2 separate regions of the Homo sapiens genome follow, and region 1 is linked to region 2. The links are contacts of gene promoters, found by promoter capture Hi-C in human tissues and cell types (Jung and others, 2019). All regions are on one chromosome and are shown on one strand. Each heading gives the region's core, a stretch centred on a gene start or on the middle of the fragment in contact. The rest is flanking DNA. Distances are from core to core; before and after follow the strand shown.

Evidence for each region. Contacts are between HindIII fragments. The study calls those that stand out against the background at their distance.
Region 1: a contact is called between a fragment that was not itself captured here and the fragment with the promoter of MCOLN2 in region 2, in 1 of the 25 tissues and cell types used here (heart left ventricle).

Annotation. Positions count from the first base shown.
Region 1 is chr1:84,613,316-84,619,462 of GRCh38, forward strand. LINC01461 (long intergenic non-protein coding RNA 1461) reads right to left here. Exons shown (of 3, transcript NR_125761.1): 2 at 5,418-5,569. Among named protein-coding and RNA genes, the nearest start is that of LINC01461, 4.6 kb to the right of the region's middle. The HindIII fragment of the contact is 3,736 bases long and covers 64-3,799 here.
Region 2 is chr1:84,993,119-84,999,009 of GRCh38, forward strand. It overlaps MCOLN2 (mucolipin TRP cation channel 2), which reads right to left and starts at 3,995. Exons shown (of 14, transcript NM_153259.4): 1 at 3,678-3,995. The coding sequence starts at 3,754. RefSeq lists enhancers at 2,478-2,537, 4,858-5,729 and silencers at 3,338-3,387, 3,998-4,287. The HindIII fragment of the contact is 9,976 bases long and covers 1-5,891 here.

The sequences.
Region 1 (6,147 bases), core at 682-3,181, 380 kb before region 2:
TTCCAGAATTCCTTGAAGCTATGGTTCTGGATGTGATTCTGCCAAACAGATCTACTTTGGAAGGCCTACCAGTCTGTGGTATGCAGTGGCAGAACAGTTATTTAAATTATCACTTGTAGGCCAGGCATGGTGGTTCATGCCTGTAATCCCAGCACTTTGGGAGGCCGAGGAGGGTGGATCACCTGAGGTCAGGAATTTGAGACCAGCCTGGCCAACATGCTGAAACCCCGTCTCTACTAAAAATACAAAAATTAGCCAGGAGTGGTTGCAGATGCCTGTAATCCCAGCTACTCAGGAGGCTGAGGCAGGAGAATCTCTCGAACCCAGGAGCCAGAAGTTGCAGTGAGCCAAGATCGCACCATTGCACTCCAGCCTGGGCAAGAAGAGTGAAAATCCATCTCAAAATAAATACATTGTCACTTGTAGTCACCTGGGAGAAAAAGTATCCATGGAAATCAAAACGCTGGAAGGCCAAGTGGCTATGGTAATAAATCTTCATGGCAAGAGTGAATAATTCAAAGATAGTGGGGTTGGCTAGCTTCTTGAATTCTTATGAACATAAAGAAAGAAAAACATAAGCATGGAGTGACCTGTAGCATCCCAGATCTGGTACCAAATTCTGTGTCAATTAGGATTAGGCACAGCAGCAAGGGACAGATACTCAGAATAACAGTGGCTTGACCAAGTTATGGAAACACCAGGGGTTCAGTCTAGGTACTGACGCACAGAAAGCCAATCACTGAGACAATAAGTATTGCCAAGGAAGAAGGCTTTAATCGGGTGCTGCAGCCAAGTTATGAGAGCTCAGTCTCAAATCCATCTCCCTGACTGACTAAATCTAGGGGCTTACATAGCAGGGAAGATATGTAACAATGTTTAAGAAAACAGGAACTAGGGAGGGGCAAGGAGGCATCTGGTGTCAGTTCTCTTGATACTTTTTTGAGAGGCCTGAAGGTCCTTTCCTGAGGAGGGAACTCAGATAAAACAAATGCAAATTTCAAGCTAGGGGCCATTTCTATGTTTATCCCAAAACAACTGTTTATGGAACTGTTGGGCCCATTTCATTTCTCACAGAAAGTTCCAGAGGTAGGTACTCAGGCTGTGGCAGTTCTGCTCCATAGTACCTTCCAGCTTGCTGCCTCTCCTTCCCTTGGGTGTGATCCTCATGTTCATAGTCCAAGATGGTAGCCATCATGTCTGTATTCCAGGCTATAGGATGGAGAAGGCAGCAAACAAAAAGGGAGGGCAAAGGACATGTGTTTCCTCCCTCCTGAAAAAGTTCTTGGAAACTCTCACATGATACTTCTGTTTACATTCCACTGTACAGAACTTTGTCACCTGGCCACATCTAACTGCAAAAGAGAGGACATGTAATCAGCAATCACTATTTTAATCAGGAAGATGAAGAGAATGTAAAATTGGGAGGCAATCATAGGATGCATGGTAGAGAGTATCAGAGGAGGTAGCTGGGATGATGGGCACCAGATGGGAAAGGACTTGATATGACAAGCCAAGGTGTTTGGACTTTATCCTACTGGCAATGAAGAATCATCAGATAGGTTTAAAGAGCAGAGAGATATAAACTGAGCTGTTCCACTGCCATCTCTCTGACAGCTATATGAAAGGGTTCTGGCGCAGTAATACCAAACCCCAGAGACCTGTTAGAAAGCAGTTACCCCAAAATGACAGTTTCTTCAATAAATGGTGCTGGGGAAGCTGGATATCCACATGCAGAAGAATGAAACTAGACACCTATTTCTCACCATATACAAAAATCAACTCAAAATGGAATGAAGATGTAAACGGAAGACCTAAAACTATAAAACTACTAGAGTACAACATAGGAGAAATGCTTCATGACATTGGTCTGGGCAAGAATTTTTTGGAAAAAACCTCGAAAGCACAGGCAACAAAAGCAAAAATAGACAAATGGGATTACATTAAACTGTAAAGCTTATGCACAGCAAAGGAAACCATCAACAAAGAGGCAACCTACAAAATTGGAAAAAAATGTCTGCAAACTATGCACTGGTGTAATGGGTTAATATTCAGAATATGTAAGAAATTCAATTCTAGCACTTTGGGAGGCCGAGGTGGGTGGATCACCTGAGGTTAGGAGATCGAGACCAGCCTGCCCAATGTGGTGAAAACCCGTCTCTACTAAAAATGCAAAAACTAGGTGGGTATGGTGGTGGGCACCTGTAATCCCAGCTACTTGGGAGGCTGAGGTAGGAGAATTGCTTGAACCCAGGAGACAGAGGTTGCAGTGAGCCAAGATCACACCACTGCACTCCAGCCTGGGTGAAAAGAGTGAGACTTCATCTCAAAAAAAAAAAAGAAAGAAAAAAGAAACAGAATATGTAAGAAATTCAAACAACTCAATAGCAAAAGAAAAAAAAAAGCCCATATAATCCAATCGAAAATGGGAATAAGACCTGAGTAGACATTTCTCAAAAGAAGACATACATACATATATATATATATATATATGTATATGAAAAAATGCTCAACATCAGTAATCATTAGGGAAATGCAAATGAAAACCACAATGAGATATCACTGCACCCCAGTTAGAATGGCAAAAAAAAAAAAAAAGACAAAAAATAACAATTACTGTTGAGGATGTGAAGAAAGGGGAACTCATATGCTGTTGGTGGGAATGTAAATTAGCATAGACACTATGGAAAACAATACGGAAGTTCCTCAAAAAATTAAAAATAGGACTGCTGTATGATTCAGCAATTCCACTACTGGATATATATCCAAAGGAATGGAAATCAATAAGTCAAAAGAGATATTGGCACTCCCATGTTCACTGCAACACTATAGTAAGGGCTTAGCACAATAGCCAAGAGATGAAATCAAGCTAAGTATCCATCAGTGCATGAATGGATAAAGAAAATGTGAGATATATATATATATATCTCCATATATATGCAATACTATTCAGTCATAAATAGGGACAAAATCCTGTCATTTGCAACAGCGAGGATGAACCTGGAGGACATCATGTTAAGTGAAATAAGCCAAGCACAGAAAGACAAATGATCTCACTCACATGTGGAATCTATAAAAGCTGATCTCATAGAAGCAGAGGGTAGAACAATGGTGACCAAAGGCTCCGGAGGGGATGTTACAGTTAGATAGGAAAACTAATTTCTCGTATTCTGTACATAGTAGGGTGACTATAGCTAATAACAATAATAACTGCTTTGTACATTGCAAGATACCTAGGAAACACCTTTAAAGTTATCACAAAAAAATGATAAAGGCTTGAAGTGATGGACAACTATTCTGATTTGATCATTACATAATATATACATGTATTGAAACATTACACTGTACCCACAGACATGTATACTTATTATCAATTATAAATAAAAATTTTTAATGGAAACAAGAAAGCAGTTGCCCTAGTCCAGGTGAGAAGTGATGAGAGCCTGAAATAGGGCAGTGACAATGGGATGGAAACAAGAGAATGGAAGGGTGAGATATGCTAGGGTAGGAGGGGACAGACTTTGGTGACTATTAGACAATGGAGGTGAAAGAAGAGTGTGGAGTTTAGGCTGACACCAGGGTTTTTGGCTGGAGCAGTTTGGTAAATGACACTGCTACTAACCAAAATAAAGGAATCAGAGAGTGAAGAAGGCTGCTGATAGCAAGCAGAATGTGATTAGTTTGATTTGGAATATTTTCAGTTTAAAGTGCTTGTTGTGTGGAAGATGTTTGGCGAGCAGAGAAATACATGTGTCTGGAGCACTGAAGAGAAGTCAGGGCTGGAGGTACCAATTCAGGAGGTGTGCGACTCTAAGTGACAGCTGCAGCCACAAGTTTGAGATGGCCTGACCTAGAAAAGAATGAGGGAACAGAGTCAAGGATGAAGCCTACGGAAGCACCAATGTTGTGTGAGTCTTCTGCAGAGTCCTTTCTGATGGAAGGTCCTTTAAGAAGCGCAGTTCAAGAAATCTGAGGCTGCAAATGCATGCTGTTTCCCCAGACATCCAGGACCTGGATCAGTTTTCCATTTCAAGACAAGATAAAACTGCTAAAGGGTTTTTCTTTCCCTGGTTGAAATACTTTAACACCAACTAATTTCAAGTTTGGAAAGAAAGTCATGTTTAAGATTGAAGTTGTTATTTCTACTCTGTAATACAGTAGAGCCTGTGCCCAGAAAACCTCCTGCCTGTCTCATCATCCAGGGAGCTTCCTTGTGTTTATTCTACCAGGCCTGCGGGCAGGACAATGTCAGCAGGTTGAGATATGAGCTACACGTTGCAGGCATTGACAGATCAGGAGAGCTCTCCTACAAACTGCATGCCCTTCTTAATTGCTTTTAAGCATGGGAAGATGAATGTTGTCCTAGTATCTGCTTCAGTTCTAGAAAAGGTTAAAAAAAGTTGTTTGTATATAGTACTCCTTTCATTTCAATTGATTCTTATTGTGCTTCCCCTCAACTCATTTAAGTTGTTGGCTAGTACAACCCACCTTCAAAGCACTGCTTTTTTGAAATTCAATGATTATAATTTGGAAGAGACTTTAGACCAAAGAGTATGATATCAAAATTCTCAGTTCTTTGGGTGGTCACTAGCAGAGTGCCTTCAACAGACAAAAATCCAAGTAAAAAGACCTTCAATTATAATACCTAGAAAGTACAGTAAAATTCAACGGAAACAAAAACAATCTCATCTAAAATTAAAGTAAATGGTAGTATACCTGTCTAAATTAGAAAGTGTGGTTGCAGGATTAGTATAAGATCCCAGAATTAGTATGAATTCAGCCAAATATCTAACATTTCTCACCTCAATGTTCTTGATACTGTTCACTGATACTCAGCATCATGGCCCTAAAATGTTAAGACTAGGTCCCATCAAATAAAGATTCAATTATAATCACTGGGTTGTAGTGACTAAGCCAGGCAAATGGGCAAAATGCAAGTTGGTAACAATATTTTCATTTTGGAAAAATGAAAAATTAAGGAAAATATGACAAAATATTCTATAAGGTGAATTTCTTTTTTAAGAGCCTTTGTTCTGAGATCATGTCCATTTCTTGTGGTCTACATGTCTTTCTTTTGTAAAAAGAGTAGTGCCAGTAAATGGCAGGTTCCTAATAATTTCATTCGACAAACCAAAAGCTGGCATACCATTGCCAATTCCTAAAGTTGTTTTGGAATTTTACTTGGTGAAATGTTAAAGTCTGAGAATGTCCCTGGAGTAATGGCTCCCTGCTGCTGATCATACTGGCTGATGAAGTAGATACTCTACAGGAACTTACTAGAAATGGTTGATCCGCAGGGAATGAAAGGCTTACACAGGGCTCTTGTTTGTTTCCTCCCTCTGTTACCAAAATGTTAACCATTTTAATTTACCTTTAAAATTGTGATTAAAAAATACATGTATTTAAAATAAGTCACTTACATGTACAAAGTCAAACCAGAACACCCCTGCCCAGCAGCATGCCCAAAAGGGGAGTCTCTCAGGCTTTGCACACACGCTTCTCACAAATGCCCCAGTGCAGGCTTTGGTTTAGGGTTCCATGTGCTAAGAATACAGCATCAAAGGCTTTTCTGCTGGGAAGGAAAGGAAGAGACTTGTAATGTCTATATAGCTCCCAAAGACAAAAAGACTCTAGGTTGATTAGAACAAGCTTCAAATCAGAACTTGGGTTTTCTGCCTTCAAAAATCAAAGAAAATTTTAAAAATTGCTTTTGAAGATTCAAAAAGAAACAATGCGGCCGGGCACAGTGGCTCATGCCTGTAATTCCGGCATTTTGGGAAGCCGGGGCGGGCAGGTCGCTTGAGGTCAGGAGTTTGAGACCAGCCTGGCTAACATGGCGAAACCCTGTCTCTACTAAAAATAGAAACATTATTAGCTGGGCGTTGTGGTGGGCGCCTGTAGTCCCAGCTACTTCGGAGGCTGAGGCAGGAGAATCGCTTGAACCCGGGAGAAGGAGTTTGCACCTAGCCGAGATCGGAGATCATGCTCCTGCACTCCAGCCTGAGCAACAAAGCAAGACTCCATCTCAAAAAAACAAAAACAAAAAACAAAACAAAACAGAAAAAAACAAGACAGAAAGAATGCCCCTTTGTAAAGGTTTTTTTAAATTCACAGAGACTTGATAGCATCACCATTGTGTTTGTTATTTCC
Region 2 (5,891 bases), core at 2,745-5,244:
TTTCAACAATGTTCATAGCATCTTCACCAAGAGTAGATTCCATCTCAAGAAACCACTTTCGTTGCTCATCCATAACAAACAACTCCTCATCCATTCTAGTTTGATCATGAGATTGCAGCAATTCTGTCACATCTTCAGGCTTCTCTTCTAGTTTTCTGGGTATTTCCACCACATCTGTGGTTAGCAGATCGCTGCAAAAGTAATTGTGTTTTTTTGCCATTAAAAGTAAGGACAAAACCCACAATTACTTTTTCACTGACCTAATACTTCCTCTACTGAAATCTGGACCCCTTCAAAGTCATCCATGAGGGATAAAATCAACTTCTTCCAAACTCCTGTTAATGTTAATATTTTGACCTATTCCCATGAATCATGAATATTCTTAATGGCATCCATGATGATGAATCCTTTCCAGAAGGGTTTACTTTGTCCAGATTCATCAGAGGAATAATTTTCGATGGCAACCTATAATGTTACAAAATGTAGTTCTTAAATAATGTCTTTTTTTTTTTTTTTTTTTTTTGAGACGGAGTCTCGCTCTGTCGCCCAGGCCGGACTGCGGACTGCAGTGGCGCAATCTCGGCTCACTGCAAGCTCCGCCTCCCGGGTTCACGCCATTCTCCTGCCTCAGCCTCCCGAGTAGCTGGGACTACAGGCGCCCGCCACCACGCCCGGCTAATTTTTTGTATTTTTAGTAGAGACGGGGTTTCACCTTGTTAGCCAGGATGGTCTCGATCTCCTGACCTCATGATCCACCCGCCTCGGCCTCCCAAAGTGCTGGGATTACAGGTGTGAGCCACCGCGCCCGGCCAAATAATAAGTCTTGAAAGTTGAAATTACTCCTTGATCCATGGGCTGCAGAATGGATGTTGTGTTAACATATATGAAAACAACATTCATCTCCTTGTACATCTCCATCAGAACTTTTCAATGATCAGAGGTATTATCAATGAGCAGTAATATTTTGAAAGAAATCTTTTTTTCTGAGCAGTAGGTCTCAACCATGAGCTTAAAATATTCAGTAAATCATGCTGTAAACAAGTGTACTGTCATCTAGGCTTTGTTGTTCCATTTACAAAGCAGAGGCAGAGTAGATTAACATAATTCTTAAGTGCCCTAGGATTTTTGGAATGGTAAATGAGCACTGGCTTCAACTTAAAAGTCACCAGCTGTACTAGTTCCTAACTAGAGAGTCATCCTGTCCTTTGCACCTTTGAAATCAGATGCTGGCTTGTCCTCTCTACTAGGAAAGTCCTAGATGGCATCTCCTGCCAATAGAAGGCTGTTTTGTCTACATTGAAAATCTGTTGTTTAGAGTAGCCTCCTTCATCAATGATCTTAGCTACATCTTCCAACTAACTTGCTGCAGCTTCTATATCAGCACTTTCTGCTTCGCCTTGCACTTACATGTTATAGAGATGGCTTCCTTTCTTAAAGCTCATGAACCAACCTCTGCTAGCTTGAAACTTTTCTTCTGCAGCTTCATTACCTCTCTCAGCCTTCACAGAATTGAAGAGAGTTTGGGCCTGCTCTAGATTATGCTTTAGCTTTAGTGAATGTTGGTGCTGGTTTGATCTTCTATCCAGACCACAAAAACTTTCTCCATAACAGCAATAAGGCTGTTTTGCTTCCTTATCATTTGTATTTTCACTGGAGTAGCACTTATAATTTCCTTCAAGAACATCTCATATGCATTCAAAACTTGGCTAAATGGCACAAAATGCCTAGCTTTTGGTCTGTCTCAGCTTTCAACATACCTTCCTCACTAAGCTTAATCACTCCTACCTTTAAAGTAAGAGACCTGTGATTGTCCCTTGCACTCAAACACTTAGAGACCACTGTAGGGTTATTAGTTGGGCTAATTTCAATATTGTGGTGTCTCAGGGAATAGAGAGGGTTGGGGAGAGGAAAAGAGATAGAAGAATGGCTGGTCGGTGGAGTAGTCAGAACACATACAACATTTATTAATTGAGTTCCCTGTCTTATATGGGCACAGTTCATGGCACCCCAAAACAATTACAGTAGTCACATCAAAGATCAGTGGTCACAGATCACCATAACAGATATAATAATAATGATGAAAAAGTTTGAAATATTGAGAGAATTGCCACAATGTGACATAGAGACACAAAGTGAGCACATGCTGTTGGAAAAATGGCACCAATAGACTTGCTGGACACAGGGTTGCCACAAACCTTCAATTTGTAAAATAAAATAAAATTGAATTAAATGCAGTATCTACAAAGTGCAATAAAGCAAAGAACAATAAAACAAGGTATGCCTGCACTTTTTTCTATGAACCCCTTAACATGTGACACAAGAGCTCACTAAAGAGTGATTTAATTCTTCAGAACTGACACACGGAACTTAGACCCTAGGCCTTAAAGAAAACAGCCCAGCTTCAGGAAAGTCCACTTTTACTTTTACAGCCAGAAGAGTTTTCTTTGGCCACTACTTTTACTTTGAAAGCTATAGTCACAAGAAGCCATCTCTTTTTCCGCCGGTTTTAAAATTGTCTTGTTCTAGGTTTCACTTCACTGACAGAGACATAGCCAAAGAGATCAGCTTGTGAATATGATCATTCTTGACTTTCAGTTCTGTATTTCGTGCCCCTTTGCTCAAACTATGTCTCTCAGTTCTTCTCACTTGCTTCATTAAAATATTTTATATCTATTACTCTATTTTTTTAAAAAAAAACACTTTTGATATGTTCCTCCTTCACAGAAAAGAATGTGGCTACCTCAAACACTTTATTAGGATTCACTCATTTTTTATTACAGGAGGTTAAATAAAATTGGTATTATGATGGCCTCTGTATGGAAAATGTGTCGTTTTTAGAGTTCCGGCCACAGAAACTGACCTATGAACGGTTTTCTAAAGGAGAAGGGTGTGCCTGTGGAAAGTTCACGGCAACGGGAGTTTGACTCCTCTTAAGGTATGAAGAGGAAGACAGGCTAAAGTCTCAAGAAACTTCTGACTCAATAGGGGAAAGCTATCAAATTTCCCAAAAGTTGTGCGATTTTGGTTAGCACATCACAAAGGTGATGAGCAGCTCCTGAGAGTGAAACCCACATCCCATTTCTGGGGAGAACTACGTAGTTGGTTCCCTCTACATAAAATATCAGAGTCTACATCCTGACACCCATAAGAAACCTCTCCCACCTTTCTCTTACTAACCTTTTCTTCCATTCTCAGTTTACAATGACACACAATTTTGTTTCCCACAAGTACCGTTCAACCAGAGACACACACACTTACACATACGTATATATTTCATATATATATATATATATATATATATATATATATATATGTTTGGAGAGCAGGAAACGGGGGAGCCAAGGTCTGTTTGTACTCACAACTTTGGCTCAACTGTGCTGGGGTGGCTGGAGGTTTGACCACGGAGGAGGGGCCCGCTGGCAGCGCCAACCGGCTGAACTGTGCGCCTTTTCATAAAGGCCGAGGAACTGGGGTTAGCCACACTACAACCCTCCCACCTGAGGGAAAGGCCTGTTTGTTCTGGAAGGCACAGCCTAGCCTTATTTAACTAACTGCAAGCAGTTAATATAAGCATTCCCAAGGCAGCAAGCAAGCTCTAGTCTACGAAAGTAAAGCCATCGACTTTAGGAAGATTTCTCCAGTCCAGCATCCTGAAAGATGAAGCCCAGACTCCTCACCTGACGGTTAACCTGAAAACACCTGATCCTCTCTCCGGAATCCTTGCCTGGGGAAAACGATAAGGCTGCCGGGCCATGCCTCCTCCTTCAAAACTTTCCAGGGCTCTCGGGATTCGGAACAGGAAACACCGTTCACGGCCGACTCATTTCGCCCTCGCCGTAACGCGTCCGCCGAAGTTGGAGCCCTGCAAAGCGGGGTTCCCTTCTCTTACCCTTTCTGCCGGCCGCGTGGTGCGCGCAGACCCCGGCCCGAGAGCAGGCGCCGCAGTCGTGGAGTGCGGCGGGCAGTTCTCGGGCGGCTGAAAGGCGGCTCTGTGTGCACCCTGCAGGATGCGGCGCGTGGCCAGGCGCTCCCGCCCCGCCCCCAAGGGGCTGCCCCGCCCCGCCCCGCCCCGCCGCCTCCTACCGGGGACCGGAGCTTCCCCAGTTGGGGTCCTAGGGGACTTATTCCACGCTTCAGCGGACCAGCCTCCCCGCGCTCCCGGAGAAGGGGGTCGGCGACGCGGAGGCGGGGTGGGGGCCGTAGGGGATGGAACCGAGGCGCGCGCGAGAAGAGCCGAGGAAGTAAGCAGTCCCAAAAGGGGGCGGCGGTGGGGCCCCCAGGGAGGCGTGGGGCACGCCAAGGGCGCCGTGGGGCACTGACCTGTGGTGCGGCCCCCAGGACAGGCCCGAGGCGCGGTTGCACACCGGCAGGTCCAGCACCTCCATGCCTCGAGGCATGGCGCGGCCAGGGAGCGGCAGGAGGACACCTAGCGTGGGACGGCTACACCTGTCTGGGCGCAGGCCCGCCGCCCTTGCACTCTCCACCCAAGTGCCCAACGCTGCGGTACGGCCCGCTTTGGCTCGGGGTGTCTGCCGGAGAAGCGCCTTACAGAGGGACCCGGGCGGTGGGCCCTGCGGCAAAGTGGCCCACGCACCCTCCACACCGCTCCCGGGCGGCCGCACCTGGCACTCCCGGCCCTCTGGGGTTCCTGCCTTTTTCGGGGGGGTGGTGGTGAGACCGGGTCTCACTCTGTCGCCTGACCTGCGATCACTGCTGACTGCAGTCTTGAACTCCTGGACCCAAGCGATTCTCCTGCCTCCGCCTCCCAAAGTGCTAGGATTACAGGTGTAAGCCGCTGCGCCTGGCCCCTTCTTTTCTTCACTCTCTCATGCATTCATTTCTTGTTTCCACATGCATTAATTTGTCCGTTGCTTTGGTCATTCCTGTTTTGATGCTTAGGGAAACACTCACTGAGAGCCAAGCCGACCGTTGGGTACTGTGGTCTCTGGGATGACAAAGACATGGTCCTTTCCCTTGAGGACTTCACATTAAACTGACAAGTTCATTCATTCTGGCTTTTCTCTAAAGTGCACGATCATGAAAGTCTGTGACAAGGGCCATATTTCTGAGATGTTAGAAAGTGCGACCGGCGCGCAAGGAATAGGAAAAGCGAGTTGCCCTGCGCCCGCGTCGGGATGAAAGGCAGGGAGCCGGGAGGGAGCGTCAGCGTGGCCCGGCGGGCGCGGAGGGAGGGCGCACGGCCCCAGGGCTGGACTCGTAACCCCAGCGCCCTGCTGCAGCCGCCGTTGCTTTTCCCTCTTGGTGCACGAAAGGAAGACGCCTGTGGGAAATCGAACAGACAATCGGTCGCCGTTCGTGAATCTTAGAGATGAGAGTCGTCAGTACATGACCAAAAGCCGTGTTCGGCTCCTAGTGATGTTAGCTTGGTAGTTTGGACGTGGCCGACAGCCTCCTAGAGCTCGTACCCCTCCTTTTCACGAGGTAGCAGCAGCAAAGTCCGCAGTGCCAGGCTCTGTGAGTCTGCAAGCGTTTAAAAGATCTCCGGGTTTAGCTCAGGCAAAGAATATTCTGCCAGGTAATTATTTTAATATGCGTGTCCAGGCAGAAGCAGTTGGACAGACGATGTATATAAAAGCACACATAATTGACCCTCTTTTAAGGCACTTCCAAGGGGTTATTAGGCAGAAATGCCTTGGTTTTGAGCCCCTTTCATCGGAGGTGCGCAATCATCCAGCTTTGTGAATAGTAACTGCACTCCAGCCTGGGCAACATAGTAAGACCCCAACCTTTTGGCACCAGGGACTGGTTCCATGGAAGATGATATTTTCCACGGACAGGTGGGGGGATGAGGGGAGGATGTTTTCGGGATGAAACTGTTGCACCTTAGATCAGTAGGCATTAGAGTCTTATAAGGAGCACACAACCTGCAA